Regions from separate parts of the Homo sapiens genome. Here all the other regions are linked to region 3. Evidence: promoter capture Hi-C in human tissues and cell types (Jung and others, 2019). All regions are on one chromosome and are shown on one strand. The core of a region is centred on a gene start or on the middle of the fragment in contact, and the rest is flanking DNA. Distances in the headings are between cores, read along the strand shown.

Region 1 (4,920 bases), core at 2,421-4,920, 330 kb before region 3:
CAGAGAGGCTGTTTAATTTTATTTGTACCAACCACACAACAGGCTGACGGTGGTGAGAGAAATGGCCAGGTATGGTGGAAGGCGCACCAGCCTGCATTGAGTAGTCTTCACTTGGCCTCCACTGGTTATAGGACCTTGCACAGTCATTAACTTTACTCAACTCCTTCATCTGTAAAATGGGGGTAGTAATAACTTCACCACTGTGCTGTGAGAATCAAGTGTGGAAATATTTTTGATAAAGTACCATAAATATAAAAGCTCTTCTTGATTGAAACTGTGAAGAGGAAAAGCACCACTTGATTAAGCATTTGTCTTCGTGGTCTTTTTTATTTGGAATATTTATAAGCATCTATTTATAAATTTGATTAAATTTTCTATAAGTGTTATCTTTTTTTAAGTAGAAAAATACTAAAACCTCAAAAGAGTTCAACTGAATAAGACAGTTCTAAAGTAGGCCAGCCTTTCTTCAAAGCCTGAAAAATATTCATTGTTAAAAATCTGTAAAGAGGGAAATTTGTTAAGATGAATCAGAAGCTTTAAAATATTTATCCATAAATTGTACTTCTAGGAATTTATCCTAGAGTATAATTCAAGATGCACACACCACAATATTATTAGCCATATTATTTATGATATTGAAAATATTAGAATGTTGAAATATCCAACAATAACAAATGAATAAATTATAACTAATCAGTGGGCTACTATTTAATCATTTCAAATTATGTTATCCAAGAATATTTGAAACTACGCAGAAATATTCATGTTAGAGTGTTAAATGAATAAGACAAGACATGAAAATTATATACTATGATCTGAGTTTTATTTATTATACATGTAGAACACACAGAAATATCTACATGGTACCCATGCACCATGGCTAAGCTAAATAATCATTGTATGTATCTACATGTTTAGGAAATGCTGGAAGGAGACACATTAGAATATTAACTGTGATTACTTCCAGGTGGCATTATGGGTGCTTTTCCTGGAATTTTTCAAATCTCCCACAAAACGATACATTTGGAAATAAATCTTTTAAGATTACATATTTTTAAAAGCTATGCAGCCTGCATGATTTTTAAATGCTGACAGTCTTCTATCACTACCAACGTATTTCATTTTAGTAATCGTCTGCTGAGTACATTTCTGATGCTAGGAACTATACTAATGTGAAAATTAATATTATTGGTAAGAGTTTCCAGTTTTCAATATTGGTTACCATCCAGGTGGATTTTTAGGCAAAATAAATTCCTTTTGATTAAAGGTCTGGGATTCTTAATCCATTTTCAGGCTGTTTTAATACAGCTATCATAAAGTTTTTGGTTAAGCCATCAATGATGTTAATAACTTTAATGTTAATTCTATGAAAATCTTATTCTTGCTTAAGTTTGTCATGAGATCATATCTAATTATGTAAGTAGCACACTAATTATTGTTCACTGTCAGTTAACATAACTTTTGTTATCCTTATGGGAATGGTGTTGCCTGTCAGCGTTAGGAGGAGAATGGTTCATGTAGACAGTAAGAATCATTTCAGGTCATTAGGTGCTCAAGGGAGCATTTACAGCTAAGGATTTTATAGGAATTAGGATGATTGATTGGACTTAATCTCACATCTATTTCTCTATCAAGAACTACAGAAAAGGTACTTCATGTAGTTTGATATTTTATCCTGCTTTTTTGTAGAGTGGAAGATGGTGAACACCAAGTTAAAATGAAGGCCTTCAGGTACAATTGACTTGTTGAGATGGTACATGGTGAGTGGAAAGGTACACAAAGGCAAGCCTGTAGCCTAAGGCAAAGGTGACACCAAGGTAGAAGGGCTTGAAGATGAGGCTTTTCTCTCTTGTTATGCTCTGAGAAGCAATGTTATCAGGCACCTGATGTCTTGCTTTTCTGTCTACTTGGATAACATTTTGGCTTTCATGCCTTTAACTTTCTCTTAGAATAGCTTAAAAAAAAACCTATTATTTTCTTCAAGCACTAAAGAAAAATTGATCAATGACTTAAACAAATCAGTTACTTATGAGGGGCATCTGACTGTTAGAAACCCATCCTCGGCCTGGCGCAGTGGCTTACACCTGTAATCCCAGCACTTTGGGAGGCCGAGGCAGGTGGATCACGAGTTCAGGAGATCGAGACCATCCTGGCTAACACGGTGAAACCCCGTCTCTACTAAAAATACAAAAAATTAGCCGGGCGTGGTGGTGGGCACCTGTAGTCCCAGCTACTCGGGGGGACTGAGGCAGGAGAATGGCGTGAACTCGGGAGGCAGAGCTTGCAGTGAGCCGAAATCGCGCCACTGCACTCCAGCCTGGGCGACAGAGCAAAACTCCGTCTCAAAAAAAAAAAAAAAAAAAAAAAAGAAACCCATCCTCATGAGTTCTTTGTCAATTATTTCAACATATTTTTTCAACAACAACAATAAAATATTTTTCTACATCTGGCAACATCGCCTATCAGAGTTTTGCTTTTTCTCCACTTATTTTGTTTTCTGATAGGATTCTACAAAATACTGCCATGGTTCAACATGGCAGTAACTGTACACAGAATTAGGAGCCAGAGCTCTGATGAAGTATTAAGCAGAGAGCTAGCCTCTGGATAAATATGCCTTTCCTTAATGAAAGCCTCCAGAAACCTTTTCGGGTGTAGCTCTTTCAAGTAAAGTACTTTATTCAGACATTGGTTCTTTCACCTTGCCCTGGGTTTCCTGGCTCCCAGCATCATCATTGACCTTCTCCACAGTGGGCTTTCTCCCACCCTGCTCTCATCTCTCTCCAGATCCTGGCTCAGAGAGAGCACCCCTTCCTCTGCTGTACATCCTGGAGTCAGGAGTCTCTATCCATCGCTGCTGTCCATGCTGATGGGGAATACTGTTAGAAGAGATGATCCTTCTAGTGAGAGTGTAACTACAATATTCTTTTAATCATAACATTTTAATTTTAATCAAATTGCTCTGTAATCCCAGCTCCTTGGAAGGCAGAGGCAGAATAATCATTTGAGCCCAGAAGTTTGAGGCTGCAGTGAGCTATGATCATACAACTGCACTGCAACCTGGGCAACAGAGTGAGACCTTGTCTTTAAAAAGATAAAGAAAAAAATCTAATTGCTCACAAATAGAACAAAGTATGAGTAGATAACTGAATTTTATGTGAATACAATTTAATCTGAATCCTATCCACTTCGCCCAACAGTGTGTATTTTGTTCCAGGAGTGTCATTGCCGAGGGTGAATGGTTGGGGCAGGGGGTGTGGTAGCTCCCACAGCCTTCATCGGTGTTCCTCCCTACCCACCTCCCTACTCTTATCTGGAAAAATTACACTTTCTTTTATCCAATTTAAAGTCTTTATAAAAACAGATCAGGGAAGTCTCCCACTTACCCTCTTTCTCATCAGATTGCCCCTAAACTATTCTAATAGAGAAATTCTGGAGTTGCTGTGTGTTGTAGGAGAGGGATTTACAGCAAAGTGTGACAGGTAAAATCATGTAATTCTTGAAATCTAAGATACACTTTTCTCCTCTACGTTTTATCTTCTGTGGAAATTTCTTATCATCAGTGGCATCTTCCTGTCAATTGGCAGCATTTCTTTCTCTTGTGATGCTTTAAATAATAGTGCGTCTTACAATTGGTGGCTCTTAGATTTGATGAAATAAGGGTAGTGGTATGAAAGGTACTGAGGTAGCTTAGAGAGAGCAGTGATTAATCATGTAGTAGTCAGAGAAAGCTTCCCAGAAGAATAACTGAGTTGGATTTTGAAGAAAGAATAGGATTTCTCCAACAGTATAGTCAGAAAGGACTTTGTAAGCCTGGTAAAGAGCAAGGCATGGAGGAGATGTGAGACGGTATGGCATGTGTGAGGATGAGCAAGTCTTCAGGCGTTGCTGCTGTGGAACATTTGGAGCTGTCGGGGAAAGTCTTGAAGAGAGAAACTGGAGATGAAGACATGAGGCAGATCAGGGAGAACCCTGGCCTATAATTAGGGAATCTGGCTAGTCCTCTTGGGCAGTGGAAATGCAGTGAATAGTTTTATGCAAGGGGATTAGGTGACTGGATTTGTTTTACTACATAATTTTGGAAGTCATAGAATAGACTAGGAGAGGAAGGAACAGCAGTTTAAAAGGTTTTGGGGTAATGCAATGAGCCTAAATTAAGATGATGACAGAGGGGATGGAGAGGAAGAGAAGACATATTTAAGAAATATTTTAAGATCTAGAATTGACAGGAGTTTGTGATTCTTTGGCTTTTTAGGGTGAAGAGGAAGGGTCTAAACCAGGGGTATCCAATCGTTTGGTTTCCCTGGGTCACGTTGGAAGAAGAAAAATTGTCTTGGGCCACACATAAAATACACTAACACTAATGATAGCTAGTGAGCTAAAAAAAAAAAATCTCATAATGTTTTTGGAAAGTTTATGAATTTGTGTTGGGCTGCATTCAAAGCCATCCTGGAGCACAGTTTGGACAAGCTTAGTCTAGATTGAGTCTAGTTGTGTTACCTACCAAGATAAACCCTATAGAAGGAAGATAAACCCTATAAATCAGGAGTAGTACAGGAAGAATTGAAAATGGGGGTACATCGCAGAGAATGCATGCAGTTTGGGGTTTCTTGAATTTTAGATTTCTTGAGAATCATTTAGGTTTATAATTCTAGTTCCAAAGGTCAGGAACTGAGTGAAGTATGAATGAGATAGGGTTATAATAACAAATAGCTTATGAGTAGCTGTAAAGCCTTGTGAGGGAATGAGATCTCAGGGTGAATAAAGAGTGAGGAGAGAGCGGTGCTAAGCAGGGAATCTTAGTGCACACCAGTATTTAAGGATCAAGTAAGAGCTGGGTGAGGAGACGAGGGGACTGAACCGAGCAGGGAGAGTGGAGGAGGACCAGGAGGCAGAGAGGCTGTGGAGACCAGGGGAGAATGA
Region 2 (4,930 bases), core at 1,856-4,355, 270 kb before region 3:
AAGATAACACAGAAAAACAATTCAGAAATTTATCAGGGAAATCTAACAAAGACACTGAAATGATTTTTTAAAACTGAAACAGAAATCTTGGAACTGAGAAATACATTTGCTGAGCTGAAAAACTCTAGAGGCTCTCAACAGCAAAATGAACCAAGCAGAGGAAAGAATCAGTGAGCTTGAAGACTGGCATTTGAAAATACATAGAGAAGAAAAAAGAAAAAGAAGAACAAGGAACAAAGACCACCTACAAGATATAGAAAAAAACTTCAAAAGACCAAATCTAAGAATTATTAGTGTTTAAGAGGAAACTGAGGAACAGCAAAAGGTAGAAAGCTTGTTCAAAGAAATAATGATAAAAAGCTTCCCTAAACTTGAGAAAGATATAAATGTGCAGGTAGAGGAAAGTCTTAGAACACCGAACAGATTCAACCCAAATAAAACTACCCCAAGGCATTTAATGGTCAAATTCCCAAAGGCTAAAGACAAAGTGAAGATCCTAAAAGCAGTGAGAGATAAGAAGCAAATAATATATTAAAAAGCTCCAGTTCATCTGGCCACAGACCTCTCAACAGAAACCACAGGGGCCAGGAGGGAATAGAAAAACATTTTCAAAGTGCTAAAAGAAAAATAAAAACCTGTCACTCAATAATATTGTATTCTCAAAATTGTCATTCACATTTGAAGGAGTGATAAAATCTTTTAGAGAAAAACAAAAGCTGAGAGAATTCACCAACACCAGTTCTGTTGTGCAAGAAAAGCTAACGGTAGTTCTTCAATCTGAAAGAAAAAAAACACTAACGTGCAAAGGAAAACTATTCAAGGTATAACCTCCACTGGCAAATTAAATACGCAGACAAACCCGGAATACTCTATGACTGTACTTGTGGTGTGCAGTCCACTTATAACTCTAGAATGAAGCCTAAAAGATAAATCTAACAAAAACAACAATAGGTAGAGCAACCTGTTAAGAGACAGGCAATATTAAAATAAATTGAGGCAACTAAAAGTCAAAATGTGTGCTGGGGGTGGTGGAGTTAAAGTGTGGAATTTTCTGTGGGTTTTTTTTTTTTTTTTTTGGCCTTTGTTTCTAGTCTTTTATTTGTGATCTAGGATAAGTTGTTATCTCTTTAAAATAACTTTTATATCTATAAAATGTTTTTTGTAAGCCTCAAGGTAACCACAGCATAAAAACCTATAGTAGCTTCACTAAAAATAAAAAGCAACAATTTAAAATATACTACTAGAGATAATCACTTAACCACAAAGCGAGAGAGGAGTCTCAAAACACAGAAAACAAGCAACAAAATGACAGTAGTAAGTCCTTACTTATCAATACTAACACTGAATGTAAATTGTCTCAATTCTCTAATTAAAAGGCATAGAGTGGCTGGGGATGGTGGCTCATGCCTATAATCCCAGTACTTTGGGAGGCTGAGGTGGGCAGATCACTTGAGCTCAGGAGTTCGAGACCAGCCTGGGCAACATGGCAAAACATGTCTCCACAAAAAAAATATAAAAATTAGCTGGGCACGGTGGCACACGCCTGTAGTCCCAGCTACTTGGGAGGCTGAGATTGGAGAATCGCCTGAGCCCAGGAGGTCAAGGCTGCAGTGAGCCATGGTCGTGCCACTGCACTCCAGCCTGGGCAACAGAGTAAGACTCTATCTCAAAAAAATAATAATAAAGAAGGCATAGAGGAGCTGAATTGATAAATAAGTAATATCTAACTACATGCTGCCTTCAAGTTGCCCACTTCGCCTATAAAAATACACGTAGACCGAAAGTGATAGGGTTGAGAAAGCTATTCCATGCAACTGGAAACCAAAAACAAGCATGACTAACTATACTTATATCAGATAAAATAGACTACAAATCAAAGACTATAAAAAAGATAAGGATGGTCACTATATAATGATAAAGGGGTCAATTCAGGAAGAGGATATAAAAATTATAAACATCTATGCACCTAACACCAGAGCTCCCAAAAATATAAAGTAAACATTAATAGGGAGAGAGAGACTGCAGTACCATTATAGTGCGGGCTTTAACACCTCATTCACAGTAATAGACAGATCATCCAGACAGAAAATCAACAAGGAAACAGTGGGGTTAAATTACACACTATATCTAATAGGCCTAACTGGCATTTACAGAAGATTTTACCCCACTGCTGCAGAATTCATAGTCTTTTCATCAGCACATGGAATATTTTTCAGAATAGACCATATCTTAGGTCTGCATAAATTCAAAAAAATAGAAATCATGTCAAGTATCTTCTCTGACCGCAATGGAATAAAACTAGAGATCAATAACAAGAGCAACCTTGGAAAACATACAAACATGAAAATTAAACAACATGCTCCTGAACAACCAATGGGTCAATGAAGAAATTAAGAAAGAAACTTAAAAATGAATTGAAACAGAGGAAAATGGAAATACAACATACCAGAATCTATGTGATACAACAAAAGCAGTACTAACAAGGAAGTTAATAGCAATAAATCCCTAGATCAGAAAAGTAGACTTTACATAAAGAACCTAATGATGTACCTCAAGGAATTAGACAAGCATGAACAAGCCAAATCCAAAATTAGTAAAAGGAAAGATATAATAAAAATCAGAGCAGAAATAAATGAAATTGAGACAAAAAAATTAATGAAATGAAAAGTTGGCTTTTTGAAAAGATAAAATCAACAAAACTTTAGCTAGACTAATTTAAAAAAGAGCAAGAGAAAGAAAGAGACTCAAATAAATAAAATCAGAAATGAAAAATGGGACATAGAAACTGAGACCTCAGAAATACAAAGAATCATTAGAGACTAGTATGAACAACTGTATGCCAACAAATTGGAAACCTAGAAGAAACAGACAAACTCCAGAACACACAGAGCCTACCAAGATTGAACCATGAAGAAATAGAAAACCTCAACAAACCAATAATCCAAGCCATAATAAAATGTCTCTTATCAAAGAAAAGCCTAGGAGTTGATGACTTCACTGCTGAATTCTACCAACCATTGATTTATTTATTTTTTGAGATAGGGTCTCACTTTGTCAGCCAGTCACTTTGTCAGGTCTCACTTTGTCAGTACAGTGGATGGTTCACTGCAGCCTCAGCCTCCTGGGCTCAAGTGATCTTTCTGCCTTGGCTACCTGAATAGCTGCAACTACAGGCATGCGCCACAACACCCAGCCAATTTTTGGATTTTTTTGTAGAGACAAGGTCTCACTATGTTGCCCAGGATGATCTTGAACTCTTGAGCTTAAGTGATCCTCCCACCCTGGCCTCCCAAAATGCTGGGATTACAGGCATGAGCCACAGTGCCTGGCCTCTATCAAACATTTAAAGAACTAATACCAATACCAACCCTACTCAAATTATTCTAGAAAATTGAAGAGGACATTCTTCCAAATTCATTCCATGAGGCCAGCATTACTCTGATACCAACACCAGAGAAGAAAATACCACAAAAGAAGAAAACTACAGGTCATATTTCTGATGGACATAGATGCAAAAATCCTCAACAAAATACTAGCAAACTGAATTCAGCAATACATTAAAAAGATCATTCACCATGATCAAGTGGGATTCATCCCAGGGATGCAAGGATGTTTCAACATATGCAAATCAATACCTGTGATATATCACATTAATGGAATTAAGAATAAAAACCATATGATTATTTCAATAGATGCCAAAAAACATTTTTATAAAATTCAACATCCCCTTATGATAAAAAGGCTCCTCAAAAATGGGTATAGAAGGAACATACCTCAAAATAATAAAGCCCATCTATGACAAACCCATGGCTAACATCATAGTGAATAGGGAAAAATGGAAGGCCTTTCCTCTAAAGACTGGAACCACACAAGGATGTCCACTTTCAACACTGTTATTCAACGTAATATTGGAAAGTCCTGGCCAGAGTAATTTGGCAAAAGAAAGAAACAAAAGGCATCTAAACTGGAAAGGAAGAAGTCAAATGAGCCTTGTTTGCACATGACAAATCTTATACCTAGAGAAACCTAAAGACTCCACCACAAAACTGTTAGAACTGATAAATTCAATAAAGGTGCAGGACACAAAATCAACATACAAAAATCAATAGTATTTATATATGCCACCAGTGAACAATTTGTAAAAAATCAAGACACCTAGGAATCAATCTAACCAAAGAAGTGAAAGATCTATACAAGGAAAACAATAAAATTCTGATGAAAGACATTGAACAGGACACAATAAAATTGAAAGATACTCCATGCTCATGGATTGAAATAATTAATATTGTTAAAATTACAATACTACCCAAATTAATTTACAGATTCAATGCAATCCCTATCAAAATACCAGTGACATTCTTCACAGAAAGAGAGAAAACAATCCTAAAATTTATATGGAACCATGAAATACTTCAAATAGCCAAAGCAATCCTGAACAAAAAGAATAAAGCTGGAGGCATCACGCTACCTAACTTCAAAATTTACCACAAAGCTATAGTAACCAAAGCAGCATGATTTTATGCCAGTATGCCAGCATATTGGCATAAAAACAGACACACATAGACCAATGGAACAGAATAGAGAACCCAGATATAAATCCACGCATTTACAACCAACTCATCTTTGACGAAGGCATCAAGAACATACAATAGGGAAAGGACAGTCTTTCCAATAAATGGTGCTGGGGAAACTGGATAACTATATGCAGAAGAATGAAACTAGACCCTTATCTCTCAACATATACAAAAATCAAATCAAAATGGATTATTGACTTGAATCTAAGACCTGAAACTGTGAAACTACTAGAAGAAAACACAGGGCAAATACTCAAGGGCATTGGTCTGGGCAAAGATTTCTTGTGTAAGACCTCAAAAGTATAGGCCATCAAAGCAAAAATAGACAATTGGGATTACATCCAGCTAAAGAGCTC
Region 3 (4,977 bases), core at 2,120-4,619:
GATAGTACATGCTTTACTCTTTACACTGCACAAGACAGATATTTTTGCTTGTTGATAGCATTAATAGCATTATGAATGAATTTTTAACTTTTACTATAGAATGAAACTTACTGTACTTGATGCCACGGAAAACAATAAGTATTTTTCTGGCTCCTCTAGCTCTGGTCATCTATCCACTTTAGTCTTAGGGAGAGAGTACAACAAAAGATAGAACGCATAGCAAGGTAGAATGGGGACCTATGTCTTTAATATCTTGCTCAGAAATTAAGAAATATTGTTAGAGTAGGTAGCTAGTCATGAATGAGCAGGGCAGGAGAGGGCTCCCCTTATACACACACCCCCCTCCACACACACACACGCACACCCCAGGAATTTCAGGCGACCATCAGGTGACGGTCAGGTGGTTATTAACTGTCTTTCTAAAACAATAATTGGTTGCAGCCAGCACCAGGGAATAGCATTCTCCCAATAGATACAAAAAACCTGAAACTAGTGATCAGCAACTTTCCAGTAAGATCTCAGGAGCTGGGTGAGTGTGCGCAAGCGTGCACATTAAGAAGCAAAATGGCAGAATTTAACTGGTATTTGATCTTCTAGGGACGTGCAACTGCTAATGGAAGAATGCCTCAAGTAAGCATGTATACGACTCCAATAAACACACTATGCATGCTCCCCTCCCAAGTCCTGGCAAGCCACTGTGCATGCAGACAGCCCACCCCAAGGGAAAAATCAGGGGAGAAGGGACATAGACCCCAGAAGTATGCCAACGTATAAAACCCTAAGTCAAAGGTCAAATGGGGTACTTGACTTTCAAGTCGCCCACTTGGCCCTCTTCCCAGTGTATTTCCTTCCTTTTGTTCCTGCTGTGAAGCTTTTTAATAAACTTTCACTCCTGCTCTAAAAGTCGCTTCTGTCTCTCCTTCTGCCTTATGTTCCTCGATCAAATTCTTTCTTCTGAGGAGGCAAGAATTGAGGTTGCCGCAGACCTGTACAGATTTGCCGCTGGTAACAGTATGAATATGATCATACTCCTTTTGTCCCTAAATTTCTATGGTATAGGACTTGCACTTTACTAAAATATACAAACTTGCAAGAAAAGGAGGCTGTTGCATTGACCCTACACTTAATGCCAATGCCCACCGTTTATATTTATGCCTTTAATCACGACTGTCGTAAGAAAAATATTATTGCTGTCATTTTCCTTGAAACTGAAACTCAGAAAGATAAGGTAGATTTGCCCAAAATCATAAAGAACCAGAGCCTGGATTCAAACCTCACCTCCATCTGATTAAAAAGGCCATGATTTTGATCTTAAAAATAGTCCGAGGAGAGGAGAGAACTCCATTGGAATATGGGGGCAGAAGGTGATGTGATGTGATGTGTCTACCAGCCAAGGAGTGCCAGCAACCATTAGAAGCTAGGAGGGAGGCATGGAACAGATTCTCCCTCAGAACCTCCAGAAGGAACCAACCCTGCCGACACCTGGATTTTGGACTTTCCAGACTCCAGGATTGTGAGAGAGGAAATTTCTGTTGTTTTAAGTCACCCAGTTTACGGTACTTTGTTCCAATCCCCTAGGAAACTCATACATCATGCTTCTATTTTGGAACAATAACAGGATGGTAAAAGTCCAGAAAAGATGAAGATGATGAATATTACAAATACTTGTCCATCTCATGCTATTTGTCCCCCTCCCATACCTTACTGATTGATGTCCATGGCGCACTGAATGTTCACAGCTAGAATATTCTTGGACACCTGCATACCTCTGCTCTACTGGTTGTATGCTTACCAAGAATCGGTTTTGTTTATTTTTAGTTGTTTTTACTGTTATAATTTTGTCACTTTGAGACAAAATAGGGAAATAGGCCAGACCCATGCCTGTAATCCCGACATTTTGGGAGGCCAAGGCAGGAGGATCACATGAAGCCAAGAGTTTGGGACCAGCCTGGACAACATAGCAAGACCCCCAACTCTACAAAAAACTTAAAAATAGAAAAAATAGGCCAGGTGCAGTAGCTCACGCCTGTAGTCCTATCACTTTTTTGGGAGGCCAAGGCAGGAGGATCGCTTGAACCCAAGAGTTTGAGACCAGCCCTGGCAACACTGTGAGACCTCATCTCTGGAAAAACAATTTTTTTTTTAATTAGCTGGGTGTGGTGGTGCGTGCCTGTAGCCTCAGCTACTTGAAAGGCTGAGGTAGGAGGATCACTTGAGCCTGGGAGGTCAAGGCTGCAGTGGGCCATGGTCCTGCTACCACATTCCAGCCTAGCAACAGAGCAAGACTCTGTCTCAAAAATAATAATAATTAATTAATTAATTAAAATAATTTTTAAAATAAAGAGAAAATAGAGAATTTATTTTATTTTATTTTATTTTTGAGGCGGAGTTTTGCTTTTATTGCCCAGGCTGGAGTGCAATGGCGCGATCTCGGCTCATCGCAACCTCTGCCTCCCGGGTTCATGCGATTCTTCTCTCGAGTAGCTGGGATTACAGGCATGTGCCACCACACCCGGCTAATTTTGTATTTTTAGTAGAGACCAGGTTTCTCCATGTTGGTCAGGCTGGTCCCAAACTCCTGACCTCAGGTGATCCACCCGCCTCGGGATCCCAAAGTGCTGGGATTACAGGCGCGAGCCACCGCGTCCGGCCGAGAATTGTTTTATTAAGGCTTGTATGTTAATTCATCCTACCGTAGAAAATTTAAGAGTGTTCATTAAAAGTTTATTTTCTAGGTCCTGATGAGTTCTGACTTTCTGTAATTCTAAGCTGATCTAACAACAAGCTAACCATATATAGCTAAAAGTTATAGGCTACGTACACGCGGTGTTCACTGTATGCCAACGCTGTACACAAATATTTGTCTATGCTAACTTGTCTGAGATCATACATCCCAGAAGTGGTGAAGTCAAGTTTGAAACCCAAGCACTCTGGCTCGGGATACTGCTTCTCTCCCCTTAGCGCATATTACTGGCATTAGTTGAAGACTTCTTTAATCCAAGTAAATGTAGAAAAGCAACAATTATAAATAACAAGAGTCCCTCGGGTAGACCGCCTGACTCTCGGATCAACTGAGGTTCCACCCAGAGCACGCCCGCCTTCAGTGAGCCGCAACCCCTATCCCTACGGTCTTTATCTGCAATTCTCTACGAACTGATTCACTCGATTTTTAAGGATTTTTTTTGTTTTCTTTTCATTACTTCTTTCAGTTTGGGGGAATCTTCCTGCACATTTGACTCGGCTCTGAGTGCGCAGACCAACGTGTTTCCTCTTTCTCCAGCCTAGGGCGGTGCCAGCCCAGGGAGCCTGCGCTTAGCGGCCCCAGGCCCGCCCCTGACACTGAACGCCGCTTGTCCCCTCCGGCTTGCCGTCCTCGCAGCCATGGCGGCCGCCGCGCTCCCAGCATGGCTGTCTCTGCAGTCGAGGGCAAGGACTCTGCGTGCATTCTCCACTGCCGTCTACTCGGCCACTCCGGTCCCGACACCTAGCCTGCGTGAGTGTCTGTCTCGTCTTCTCTGGGCTTTGGGGGAGGTGCAAGAGCGGAATACCGGCCTCATGAAGGGTGCCGCGGTGGCTGAGCCAGCGCCGCCCGGGGGAGGCCAGTGCGTCCGCTGCCAGGCCCGTCTGGTAGGAAAACCATGGACGTGGGTCTGTGCTCTGCACCCGCGTTGCCCGGCTTCTAGCCGCCTGTTTCTGCCCTGGGTGCTCTGGGAGTTTGCTCAGAAAGCTTACATCCCCCTTCCCCGTGACCTGCTCCTGTGTTGCCCCCGTCCACAGCCCCTGGCACAGGTTACTGGTGCTGTGTTGTTTATCGGGCATCGGCGCTGTTGAACCATGGATTTCCCCAAACATTAAGAGAGTCATACGGCTGTGCTAGGACAAATTGCTGCTCTGAATTCCAGGCCACCAAATGGGCGGCCTTCATTCAACAGGCGTTGATGACCTCCATTTAACAGAGATTGTAGGGATGCTTGATAGCGTGCTTACCCCGGAGGACTCTAGTGGAAAATACAGATTTATTAGCGGAGAAGTGCTATGTAGGGTGAGAGGCGCTGTGATAGAAGTGTGGCTAGAATGACGGGAGCGTTGAGGAGGAGCTGGCGTGAGTCTAATCAATAGGCGGATCCTACCTGTGCTACTTCCTGTTATATCTCTAATTTACTCTCCTCATACTACCAACTATCTAGTTCAGGTGACCATCTCATTTCTACAAGTTTTTTTTCCGTTTCCTGTTTCCCCTCTTGCTCTCCTACATTGAATTCTCAAAACAGCCAAATGAGGTTTTCAAAATTTAGATCTTGTCTTGCTGCTCTCATGTTCAAGATCTACAAATGGTTTCCCATTGTTTTCAGATAAACTATAAATACATTAATCCTTCATACTGGCTCTTCATAGGTCTAATAATTGTCTATTTTTAAATTTTCATTCTTAAATTCTTGGAATACTTAACTCCTATTGTATACCATGCAGTGTTCTAGACACTCACCGGAGATACGGCAAGGTGGGGAAGTCAATAGTATAAACAACCAAACAACTAAATAAGATGTCAGATAGGGTTTAATGCTTTGAAGAAAAATAAAGTAGAGTATTGAGAATGATGGATTTGGGGGGAGTAGTGGCCACAGGATGGTCAGGAAAGATCTTTCTGAGGAAGTGACATTTGAACAGGGCCCCAAGCCATGCAGAGATATGGGGAAAGAGCCTTTGGGGTATGGGGAACTATAAGTGCAAAGGCCAAAAGTTGAGAACAATCTGAGGGGTGTGATCAAGGAACGGGAAGAAGGACAATGTGGCAGGAGCTAAGTGTGAGTAGAGGAGAGAGTGGTAGTATAAGACGTCAGAGAGTTAGTTAAGTAATAATCTGATCTCTCAAGAGTTTGTAGACATTTCATTTGGATTTTTGGCTTGGGTTTTATATTGAAAGGCTTGGAACAGGGAACTGATATAATGTGATTTACGTTTTTAAAAGATCACTGG
Region 4 (5,706 bases), core at 2,882-5,381, 260 kb after region 3:
GGACACCTCCGAGGTAGCTCTGATTTCAGCTGTGTGGATTTCTGCGATCAGATGGTGAAGGAAGAATCGTCGCCGTAAATCTTGGATGGACTTCCCCTTGTCATGGAGGAGCTGATGTTCAGACACAGCTCTTTTGCTTTGAAAGAAAATATTAGAGGGGAAGAAAACAGTTAAATTTTAGTTGCTGATAGAGACAACAAAGACATGAGTAAATCTCTTTAGTTTTCTAGTTGGTCCACCGTAAGACACAAGCTGGATGGGTAGCAAGCTCATTGCGCAGGGAAGGGTAACCAGTGGGAAGGAAAGAGCTGGCAGTTGGAAGGCTCCAGCTCATGGTCCCAGTTCTACCACTCACTAGGTTGTGACCTTGGTGGGAACATGAACATTCTTGGGCCTCATGGGCTTCAACTGTATAAAAGGAAGGGGTCAGAGACAGTGATTTCTATACTTCCTTCCCGGTTTAAAACATATGATTCAGTTATGATCAGAAATAGACAGAAACCACGGAGTATCTCTTCACATTTTTCAGAGTTCTGCTGAGAAAATAAATCTAGAAGTCCCAGCCTGGGAAATAAAAGGCAGCTGCTTTTACCTGAGTATTCTCTCTCTCTCTCTCTCTCTCTCTCTCTCTCTCCTCTCTCTCTCTCACACACACACACACACGCCCCATTAAGAAAATAATAATATTGAAACAGCAAGCCGTAAGAGTAAAAACAAACAAAGGCTGAAGGAGAAGTGAGCAGTGTAGCCTGTCTAGGAAACCATCTGATTCACAGACTGAACTTTAACATTTTAGACTACTGGCTACCAAGAACATACATTTGAAGGCCAATCGTCAGAGAGAGAGAGAGAGAGAGAGAGAAAGAGAGGGAGAGTATGTGTATTTTTCTGTAAAGTAGTGGGTGGTCTCCTTAAAATGGGTTTCTTTGTGTGCTTAAATGAGCTCATTCTATTTCTTCTGTGCTTCATGTTTTTTTTTTAAATTTAGAACTTCAGAGAGTATGATCCTTACTACTTAGTTGAGAAGTTCACTTTTCTACTTGCTCTCTTTGTCTTAAAATTCTCTAGGAAAAAATATAAAGGATTTTTCTATTTAAATGACACTCTAATGAAAATATCGTGAGAAAGAATAAACTAATTCTCTATCAATCCTTTTAGATAACACCCAAACTCTTGCTTAAATGTCCATTGTGTATTCTTTTATTATTTTGTGTATATTATTAACCATATTTACGGACTGCATCTGTTAATCAGTCATATCATGCCTGCTTCAACTCTGCATTAACTCCAATTTCTACCATTGGAATAGTCCTCCAAACTGGCCCATCCTCAAAAGCATCTCAAAGTGTTTCCCAGGGCTACATCCCATGTACTCTTACTTCCCTGAAACAATGGTGTCTGGGTCCTTTGTTGCCTTTGTTGGTGCAATGTCTTTAACTCCTCAGAGAAATATGGCAATCATAAATAGCATTATTACTGCCCCCATTGTATTCATGGGGAAAGTGAGGTGCAGAGAGGTTAAATGACTTGCCCTAGTCTACACAATGAGAACTGGCAGAGCCAGGGCTCCAAAAACTAGGTCTTCTGATTCTAAAGCCAAGACTGCTTTTTCAATTTCCTCAACGCTTTCTCCTGCCTAAGCGGAAGCTGAAGCTGAAGTCCCAGCCTGTTCCTGTGTTGAGGCAACACGGTAAGGAGAGTACAGGGTATATGCATGGGGCATAGAGTAACAAGCCACCACAATAATAGGCAGATTGGACAGAAATTTATCAGTTTCCTTGAAGATCAAGCCTATTGCCCAGAAAGTTCATTTTCATCATCAAATTTAGGAACTACAAGAGTTTGGATTATCACTGGATGAATGAGTCAAAGAAAAGAGTAAGAGATGAAAATACAGTCATCATTTCTCTGGCCCTTCTAGCTAGAATGTCAGCTACCTTCTAGTATTTTAGTGTGTGGACTGACTTGAAGCCATGTAGCTCATTCAAAAAAGACATGACTTAATGGAAAGGAATTTAACAGGAGCCTGGTTTAAATGAGGCATGAAGGAGTCTCTCTTTCTTTTAGAAGGTGCCACATGTGACTAGATTAAAATTCACTTACTCTGCGGTAATAGTTAGTATTCTGGAAACTTTTAAGAATCTACAAGTTTGAGGCTTTGGTACAAGGTATTTATATCCTTTAATAACATTTATAAAATAATAGGACAGATATAATTGCATATTTCATAAGCACTACAGTTTAATAAGTATCTTTTAGCAAAATGTCACATTAAAAAGCAGTTCTTAACCACTGATAATTTATAGTATTGGGGGCTTTTATTTCTTTCTCTGTTCCTGGCAGAAGCCCTCGTCTTCTGTATTGCTCTCCAAATGGATAAAGTGTAGCCCATTTTAGCTTAACTTGAGGCCAAAACTTTTAATGGTTGGTCTATTCTAATTAAGCCACCATTGCTCATATGCCCCTTCTCATGGGCATATGTGCTTGTCATCTTGGCCAGCCTGTCAACTGTGAGTCACAGTGCCTTCCTAACTCAAGCTGCATTTTCCCAGGATAGTTCTCTTGGGAAATGCAGTGATCATTCCATCCTTCTAATTTATAAAAAGCCTACAATATGGCACAGCTTTGTTCAATTTAAAATAGTACATTGCTTACGAGGGACAAAGCTTTTCATCTGCCTTTTGGGGGAAACTGTTAGTATCTTGGAAAACACAAGTTTTCTTAAATGCTAAATTGGAAATGCTGTTAGACACTTTACTTAGTATTTCAAAAACTTCTGCAATTAAAGTATTGTGAAGAATGAATCTCTCACTAGGCAGTTGCATTAGAGGATCAGGAATATAATGGCATCAGTATAAACTAGGTATACAGAGGTAGTGAGTAATAAATTCAAATTAAGGACGTTTTCAATTTAGATAACTCTGAAATATTTAAGTTGTAAATATGGCCTCAATAATAGTCTTTTACTCAATTTGTCTGTAAACATTACATAGCACTATGGTTCACATGACACTTACATACCTAAGCTCCAAAATGGAAAAACAGGTAGGTTATGTATCATGTTCTCCTTTGATTATTGTAAAAAAAAATTGCAAAATTTTGGGGAAATGCTTATCATAGATAACCCTAAATTCAGCCCAAACATAGTTCTTCTCCTTTAAAAAAAAAATCACTCCAAGGGAGTTTTTAGGGAAGAAGCTTAGATTTCTAAGGAACTATCAAGGAACAGAGGGCATAAAAACAGTGATGGAAATTCCCTTTCCAGCACAGGAAGAAGCAGTATGCTTGTACTGATGCTAGGCTTCTAAGGACGGACTCTGTGTTTGAGAAGAAAAGTTCTGTGGTACATGCAAGAGACAGGGTTAGGGTGTTAGAGTTAAGATGACTCACCAGAAGGTCCTTCCAACCCAAATGACTCAGTAGAAAGTTATGCTTTTCATTAAATGGAATAGACCCAGTCTGGCTCCTAAGCAAATCAGCCAATGACGTTTTAGGTTTCTGAATCTGTGGAGTTCCCTCTCTAACTTAAACATAGAGATAGCCACCTGCCAGAAGCCTTGTTCATCTGCACAAGAACATCCATAGGCCTCACTTTCCAGTATCCAACTTGATCATGCTCTAGCTCCATTAATTAAAATCTTTGGGATTAACAGGTCAAAAAGACTCACAATTTGTAACTGCTTCCTTTGCATGGTTTAGGAAGTCTTATTGTTATAGTAATTTCCTCTCCCTTAAAAGTTAGCATCTAGTTAAAAAAAAAATCTATACTTCTAAAGCAGTTTCCCTAATACTTGGTGTGAAAACCGGGGAGTAATATGGTTTGATTATATGTTAAAATTTCTTTCAAGAAACTAGCTTGATTTAGCATAATGGTAGACTTATGTTTTGTCTAGCACACAAAATTTACTGTTACTTGGCAGCAAGACAAAAATAATGACTTGTTTTTAAAAACTCCATTTGGCTATGATAATTTGATGAAACATCTTCATCTACTGATGATTTCAGCCTCCATGAAAAACCATGCCTGTAATGTGATGATCTATTACCCATTAACTATGAGAATGTTTTGTGGTAGTTTTATAACCATCTGCTGAGTGTGAGTGTTTAACTACAATATTATATTTCACCCACAAACAAAACTATAACAGTCGCTGGCTGCTAAATGGTTTCTGATGTGTGTTTTGTAAGGTGCAACAAAGAAAGAGTTAAAAATAGCCTTTAGGACAACTTAGCAGTATTTTTATGCCATAGTTGTGTATATAATCGTGAATCATTTGCTGTTTCTCAAAAGAGAAAACAGGTATTTCTTAAGCAACTTTAAAGAAAAAATTGGCTCTGTTCCAAGGTAGTATTTCTTAGCCAAATAAATATAGTATTTAAGTGTGCTTTTAAAAATTCAGTCTTCATTTCTATTTATGTATGAATTTCAAATTATTGAATTTAAGACAAGTTTCAAAATGAGCAAAAAGTCTGAAGACAATTTTCAGAAACACATCGGTAAAATGTTGATCTGAAGAATACAATGCAGCCTTATCTTCGGTATAATGTTCTACACAATTTGCCTTAGGAGATTCATAATAGATTTTCATTTTGATGCCAAGGTTCCGACATGTCTAAAGTAATTTCATTTAAGGATTTTCTCCTCTAATAATAATAGACCACAAGCACGTATAAAACAGTTGCCTTTTTGTACACCCTCGGGAATTTACAAGGAAGCACCATAAACCTGACTGTAAATATTAGATACTGCTATTTTTATTGTTAGTGTAAAAATTTGCCTTAATTCCTTCTCCAGAGTCAAACGCATCTCAGTTCTCGAACTTTATAGTTTTCCCATTCTGAACACTGAGTCTGCAGTTTAAAGATCACCCAACTATGGTGTTATACACATTAGTGAACTGCTAGGTCCAACAGATTATTAAGATCATGTTACTCTATCACTCTTCCAAGTTTTCAGTCACACGACATAGTGATATTTCTCTGGTGTGCTTGGATGTATGATTATTTCAAAGTTGAAGTTATCATTAAAAGAATCACCAAGTGAGAATGCCAAAATACAAGTTTTCAGTCTACAATGCAAATATTTGACTCCAGATTAAAGAACTGTTAGCAATAACTCCAAGAAAAAAAAGGTTCCACACCTAAAATTCATTTTGGAATCAAGCGCTCTAGCGTTCCTGAACTGTATCAATACTAACATTGGAGTCGTGCCACTGCAAAGTTGTTGCTACTTTATTATATAATACGCTTTTATTATGTAATGTGTTCCTATTTTATATGCTTAAAATTATGTCATTCATAATAAAATTAGATGTACGGCTTTTGCTTTTTCACACGCAAACCGCCACCCACATTCAGTATGTATACAAGCGCGCAGGCCATACGTCCCCAGGACCGCTCAGCTTCCTCCGAGTTTCAGAAGCTTCCCGGGTCCTGACAGTAACCACCACCCCCCAACTTTTTTTCTTTTCCACTAGAGGCAGAGGATCTTTCCCTAGAAGAGATTCTGTGAAACGCTCCCTCTTATGGAAACACACATAAAGTCTCTCTCTTGCCTGTCTCCCGTTGAAGATCAACCAGTTCTCCTGCCAGGTTTGAGGACCCGGGCTCAGGCCCCGGCAGGTATCCGGGATGGTCCCTCTCCCTAACCCGGGCAAGGAGCATCGGTGACCGCTGCAAGCCCTCGGCAGCATCCCAGCTTGGCAG
Region 5 (5,245 bases), core at 201-2,700, 310 kb before region 3:
ATCACTTTTGTGGCATGCCATAATCTGTAGCCTACTCATTGTTTATGCCCGTATTGGATTTATTTTTTGCTTAAGCATGATATTTGAGGATATAGATTATTTCCAATTTTTTATTATTTTGGTGGACATGCTTGACAAGCTTCTTCCTATGAGTTAATTGCTTGGGATTTTCCTAAAAAGTGAAATTTATTTTATTTTTGTACTTTTCACTATAAATTTCTCCAAGTGTTCTTTAAAATGTTTCTATAATCTATTATAACCTTATGTATCTGTTAACCATTATAAGCACTAACATAAGAAATTTAAGAATGTATGCATAATTATTTAAATGTCTTTTTAAAGTTTTGAATATAAGTTACGATATACCAAAAAACTTAATAAGGTGAAAACAATATTGCAAGGGGGCATGAGGATTAATTTTTTCTAATAGATGTAAATTACTATAATTTTAAAAATTGACTTGGAAATATGTTAAGTCATAGACCTAGTTAATCCTAAAATAGAGCAACCTGTTCGTTTTTTCATGTAGTACATACAATTTAGTTCCTGAGAAAAATAATCTATTAATAATAAAGTCATGAAATAAACAAAATTGGTGATATCTTTTCAATGGAATACCATTCCCCTTTCATATTTTAGCATATTTAAAGAGCATTTTATAGCACAATTATAACTATTATAGATGTCAATATAAGAAATTTAATGACTTATTTATAATGATCCAAATGTCCTTTTTAAAAATCTTTGAATTAGAGCACAGAAAATTCTATACTATCCATTGCACTGGTTACTTGAGAAGCTGGCCTCCAAATATTGTTGGAATGGAAGAAGAAAGGAACAGTAAGAAAGACAACAGTAATTTTACCTGCCTTGTGGCCATTGGAAGATTACAGCCATATATTGTTCCACAGAACAGTGGAGAGATTAATGTGAAACCAACTGAATTTATAACCCGGTTTGCAGTGAATGGAAAATTTGTCTATGTAGATCAAAGGTAAACATTTACATGTTATAATGATTAGAATTCAATGGGATATTTGAAGCTATTAAAGGCGTGTCTTAGTAGCACTGCTAGTTTTTCTTTTTCTTTTTTCTGTTTCAGAACAGAAAATAAAGTTTAAATGAAATAAGAATATGGACATGTCAGTAAATTTGCTTAAGCCAACATGTAAACTTGGAAGAGTGTCTCTTAGCCAGTGGTGCAGAAACTGGGCATGATCTGTGGCCACGATTTTACTGGCAAAAGCTAGTAGGAGCACAGCCTGGATCGGGTGGAGGCTTCATGCCTGGGTGCCTGTTCTGTGTTGCAGCTCTAGTCTGGGTCTAGGGCAGCCGAGGGGAGCCCAGTGATATGCATGGGTCACTCATCCCCTACCCTGTGCACTTCTTTACGATCCTGACCATATGTGGGCCTACAGTCTTCTGGGAGGGAGTACACTCACCACTTCTGAAGTTTATTTTCAATTTTGAAACCAGGGCAACAGCGATTTTAGGATATCTGCCTCAGGAACTTTTGGGAACTTCTTGTTATGAATATTTTCATCAAGATGACCACAATAATTTGACTGACAAGCACAAAGCAGGTAGGTATGCATTGAGCAGAATACATTTTGGGGAATTTAAAATGACAGTTTTAACTCTTAATTTCCCATTCCTGTGAAATTTGAAGTTTGAATTAATCTTCACAACATTGATTTTTATAGTCATTGACTATTATGCTGATAATTATCTTTTCTCGTTAAGTTCTACAGAGTAAGGAGAAAATACTTACAGATTCCTACAAATTCAGAGCAAAAGATGGCTCTTTTGTAACTTTAAAAAGCCAATGGTTTAGTTTCACAAATCCTTGGACAAAAGAACTGGAATATATTGTATCTGTCAACACTTTAGTTTTGTAAGTAATTTTTTATGTTAAGACCTTTATATTGATTTCAAATGAGTCTCTTTGCTTTTCTCCTCTCATCTTGCTAAACCATTAAAACTGTGTGATCCTCTGGCCTTTTATTGTAACTTGAGATTTATCTTTTGAGTAATTCATTTACTGTTCATTGACATTAGTTCTCAGAATTAAGCTAAAAGTTTTCATTTCTGTAATACATTCCTTCTTACTTGATATAATATGTGAGGGTAAAGGCATTTATTCAAGCATTTTCTTCCTACCCTCCATGGCCATTCAGTAAACAATGCAGACGTGGATTTCTACTGTGCATTATTGTAAGAAATTGTTTTGTCCTCCCTGTCATTTTTACCTGCACATCTTATAAGCCTGGGGTGCCGCCATGTCTGTGTAGGCATGCTCAGCACGGGGGAGAACAGAAATCCAGCCCAGGTGTTGCTTTAGCAAGCTCTGGTCTGTAGCTGTGTCAGCCTGAAGGAAGAGTCAAGTTTTCCTGATTTTATAGGAGGCTAGGATGGCCCCGTTGTAAGTCTTACTTTTTTTCTGTAAGTTTCTCTTTGAAATTGCTGTAAGGTTTCCTTGAACCAGTTATTTCCTTGTCTACAATACTGAGAGAAAAATAATAAAAAAAAAAAAAGTTTAATACTTCCAGTATTTCCTGTCACCCATCCCAGTAGTCTTTGCCTACTTATTATTAGTACAGGAACTGAGAGTTTGTTATTGTGAGAACACATACTTTATAGAGGAATGGGGCATTTGGCAAACACCATGATACTTAGCACATTAAGACCTTGATTTCTGGTGGTGATACTAACAATATGTGTATATAAAACATAAATGGGCCACAAATTGACAAATTAAATATACAGATCTTAGTGTAGTTGCTATAACAGTTTCCTTCACCTTAGAAAGTAAATCACCTATGGTGTTTTTAATTCTAGGGGACATAGTGAGCCTGGAGAAGCATCATTTTTACCTTGTAGCTCTCAATCATCAGAAGGTAAGCTTACTTTTAGATGATGGAAGACTTATTACTAAGACATATTATTAAGACTATTACTATCTTTTTCTGTCCTGGAGAGGGGAAAATTTGAAGGTGAAATTAAAAGTAGTTCTGCAGGTTGGGTTATAGGAATCCCAACTTTGGTTTAGAAGAGACTAAATTCAACGGGAAATAGATATCCCATTTAAACTCCCAGAGGTATCACCATGTCCCCCTCAAAATTCCCACAGTGCTTTGCTCACTTTTCTGTTATAATCTTGCATTATACTGCAATTAGTTGTTCATTCAACTTGCTTTCCAGTAGACAGTTCTTTAAGGCAGGAATGATGTTTTATCCATTTTTCAGCCCTAGCAGCTAACATTGTTCCTTGTCAATTGTGACACTCTTGGACAAATTAACGAAAAGTATTGGGGGAGTTTTTGCTTATCTGTGTGAGTTTTTCACCACAGGAATATATTAATGTATTATTTGTAAAAATAAAAATCTTAGGAAACATTGAAGTAGTATTGCTGTGGAGATTAAAGTGGCAAGAGACTGGAGTCAAGGGTTACTAGTCACAATTGTGCCCTCAGTGACTCTACACATTTGATTCAAAGAGCATCATGAATTACATATGTAATGCAAGGATGAGTGTTTTCCAACTTTTTTGGATGCAGCTAGTCTGTTTCTTTTAAGGAGAGAACTGTGAAATTATTTGAATTGAAAGAAAGATAAAGTCCTCAACTGAATTTCTCCTTTTGCTGTTACTTAGAATCCTCTAGACAGTCCTGTATGAGTGTACCTGGAATGTCTACTGGAACAGTACTTGGTGCTGGTAGTATTGGAACAGATATTGCAAATGAAATTCTGGATTTACAGAGGTAATGTTTTATTGCTGCAAATATTTTCAAAAGTAAAAATATCATATTTATAAAATCAATATACAAAAATCAGTAGCCTTCCTATATACAAATGATAACCAGTTTAATATAATGGAAAATATTATCTTTACAGTAGCAACAAAAAGATATAAATTTTATAAGAAATATTCATACCAACATGAAAAAAAACTTTAAAATTCACAAAGATATATAAAAAGATAACTCATATAACTTCAGATATAAGCTGTTTTTCAACAGGAAGGCAGAATTGTAAGAATTGTCCTGTTCCTTAAACTAGCCTGTGAATTTAATGTGGATCTAGTCAAAATACCACCGTGTGGCCAGGCATGGTGGGTCATGCCTGTAATCCTAGCACTTGGGGAGGCCGAGGCAGATGGATTGCTTGAGTCTAGAAATTTGAGACAAGCCTGGGCAACATGGCAAAACCTCATCTCTACAAAAAAAAAAAAATTAGCTGGATGTGGTGGTGCACGCCTATAGTCCCAGCTACTTGGGAGGCTAAGGTGGGAGGATCACTAGAGTGGGGTGGAGGGAGAGGGGCTGGTGGGGCAGTGTCAAGGCTGTAGTCAGCTGTGATCCTGCCACTTACTCCAGTCTAGGCAAAAGAGCAAGACCCTGTCTCAAAAAAAAAAAAAAAAAAATACCACCATGCATTTTTTTTTTTTGGAATCCAACAGATTATACTAATCACATTAAAATATCTAGAAATTTATGAAAAATAATAGTAATAAAGTGAGACTAATGCTGTCAGATATTAAAATACGTTATAAAGCTACAACCACTAAAACATTTTAGTGCAACCCACAAATAGATCAATGTAAAAGATTATATTTCAGAAATACAATCAAATGCACATGCAAATTTATTATATGGTAAAAATTAAAAATGACACCTTAAATCAGTAGGTAGAAATGAATTAAACATTAAAGGGCATTATGATAACTGTATAACCATTTGGGGAAAAAATAAAGCTAGACTCCAACTTTATTCTTTACACTAAAATAAATTACAGATAAATCAGAGTTCAAAGTAGAACTATAAAACTAAAGCTTTTCGGGTGGAGCCAAGATGGCCGAATAGGAACAGCTCCAGTCTACAGCTCCCAGCATGAGCGACACAGAAGACGGGTGCTTTCTGCATTTCCAGCTGAGGTACTGGGTTCATCTCACTGGGGATTGTTGGACAGTGGGTGCAGGACAGTGGGTGCAGCGCACCAAGCGTGAGCCGAAGCAGGGTGAGGCATCGCCTCACCCGGAAAGCGCAAGGGGTCAGGGAATTCCCTTTCCTAGTCAAAGGGGTGACAGATGGGCACCTGGAAAATCGGGTCACTCCCACCCTAACACTGCACTTTTCCAATGGTCTTAGCAAGCAGCACACCAGGAGATTATATCCCATGCCTGGCTCGGAGGGTCCTACACCCACGGAGCCTCGCTCATTGCTAGCACAGCAGTCTGAGATCAAAC

Evidence for each region. The method cuts DNA at HindIII sites, captures the fragments that hold promoters and counts their contacts. A contact is called where the count stands out against the background at its distance.
Region 1: a contact is called between a fragment that was not itself captured here and the fragment with the promoter of MRPS35 in region 3, in 2 of the 25 tissues and cell types used here (adrenal gland and lymphoblastoid cells).
Region 2: a contact is called between a fragment that was not itself captured here and the fragment with the promoter of MRPS35 in region 3, in 1 of the 25 tissues and cell types used here (IMR-90 fibroblasts).
Region 4: a contact is called between a fragment that was not itself captured here and the fragment with the promoter of MRPS35 in region 3, in 3 of the 25 tissues and cell types used here (H1 embryonic stem cells, lymphoblastoid cells and neural progenitor cells).
Region 5: a contact is called between a fragment that was not itself captured here and the fragment with the promoter of MRPS35 in region 3, in 2 of the 25 tissues and cell types used here (H1 embryonic stem cells and lymphoblastoid cells).

Annotation. Positions count from the first base shown.
Region 1 is chr12:27,374,657-27,379,576 of GRCh38, forward strand. It overlaps BMAL2 (basic helix-loop-helix ARNT like 2), which reads left to right. Exons shown (of 17, transcript NM_020183.6): 4 at 1,690-1,731. Among named protein-coding and RNA genes, the nearest start is that of BMAL2, 44 kb to the left of the region's middle. The HindIII fragment of the contact is 3,078 bases long and covers 2,132-4,920 here.
Region 2 is chr12:27,439,591-27,444,520 of GRCh38, forward strand. The region is part of intron 1 of BMAL2-AS1 (BMAL2 antisense RNA 1); the gene reads right to left. It also overlaps a transcript of SMCO2 not described here. Among named protein-coding and RNA genes, the nearest start is that of BMAL2-AS1, 4.6 kb to the right of the region's middle. The HindIII fragment of the contact is 5,519 bases long and covers 347-4,930 here.
Region 3 is chr12:27,707,463-27,712,439 of GRCh38, forward strand. It overlaps MRPS35 (mitochondrial ribosomal protein S35), which reads left to right and starts at 3,370. Exons shown (of 8, transcript NM_021821.4): 1 at 3,370-3,493. The coding sequence starts at 3,382. It overlaps MRPS35-DT (MRPS35 divergent transcript), which reads right to left and starts at 3,285. Exons shown (of 5, transcript XR_001749448.2): 1 at 3,201-3,285. RefSeq lists enhancers at 2,801-2,880, 2,911-2,990, 3,001-3,790. The HindIII fragment of the contact is 7,635 bases long and covers 1-4,977 here.
Region 4 is chr12:27,963,635-27,969,340 of GRCh38, forward strand. PTHLH (parathyroid hormone like hormone) reads right to left here. Exons shown (of 6, transcript NM_198965.2): 5 at 1-136. Among named protein-coding and RNA genes, the nearest start is that of PTHLH, 6.2 kb to the right of the region's middle. RefSeq lists an enhancer at 5,248-5,706. The HindIII fragment of the contact is 6,179 bases long and covers 1,043-5,706 here.
Region 5 is chr12:27,399,781-27,405,025 of GRCh38, forward strand. BMAL2 (basic helix-loop-helix ARNT like 2) reads left to right here. Exons shown (of 17, transcript NM_020183.6): 10 at 754-994; 11 at 1,477-1,583; 12 at 1,744-1,894; 13 at 2,839-2,897; 14 at 3,653-3,761. The region is part of intron 1 of BMAL2-AS1 (BMAL2 antisense RNA 1); the gene reads right to left. Among named protein-coding and RNA genes, the nearest start is that of BMAL2-AS1, 44 kb to the right of the region's middle. The HindIII fragment of the contact is 4,832 bases long and covers 1-3,866 here.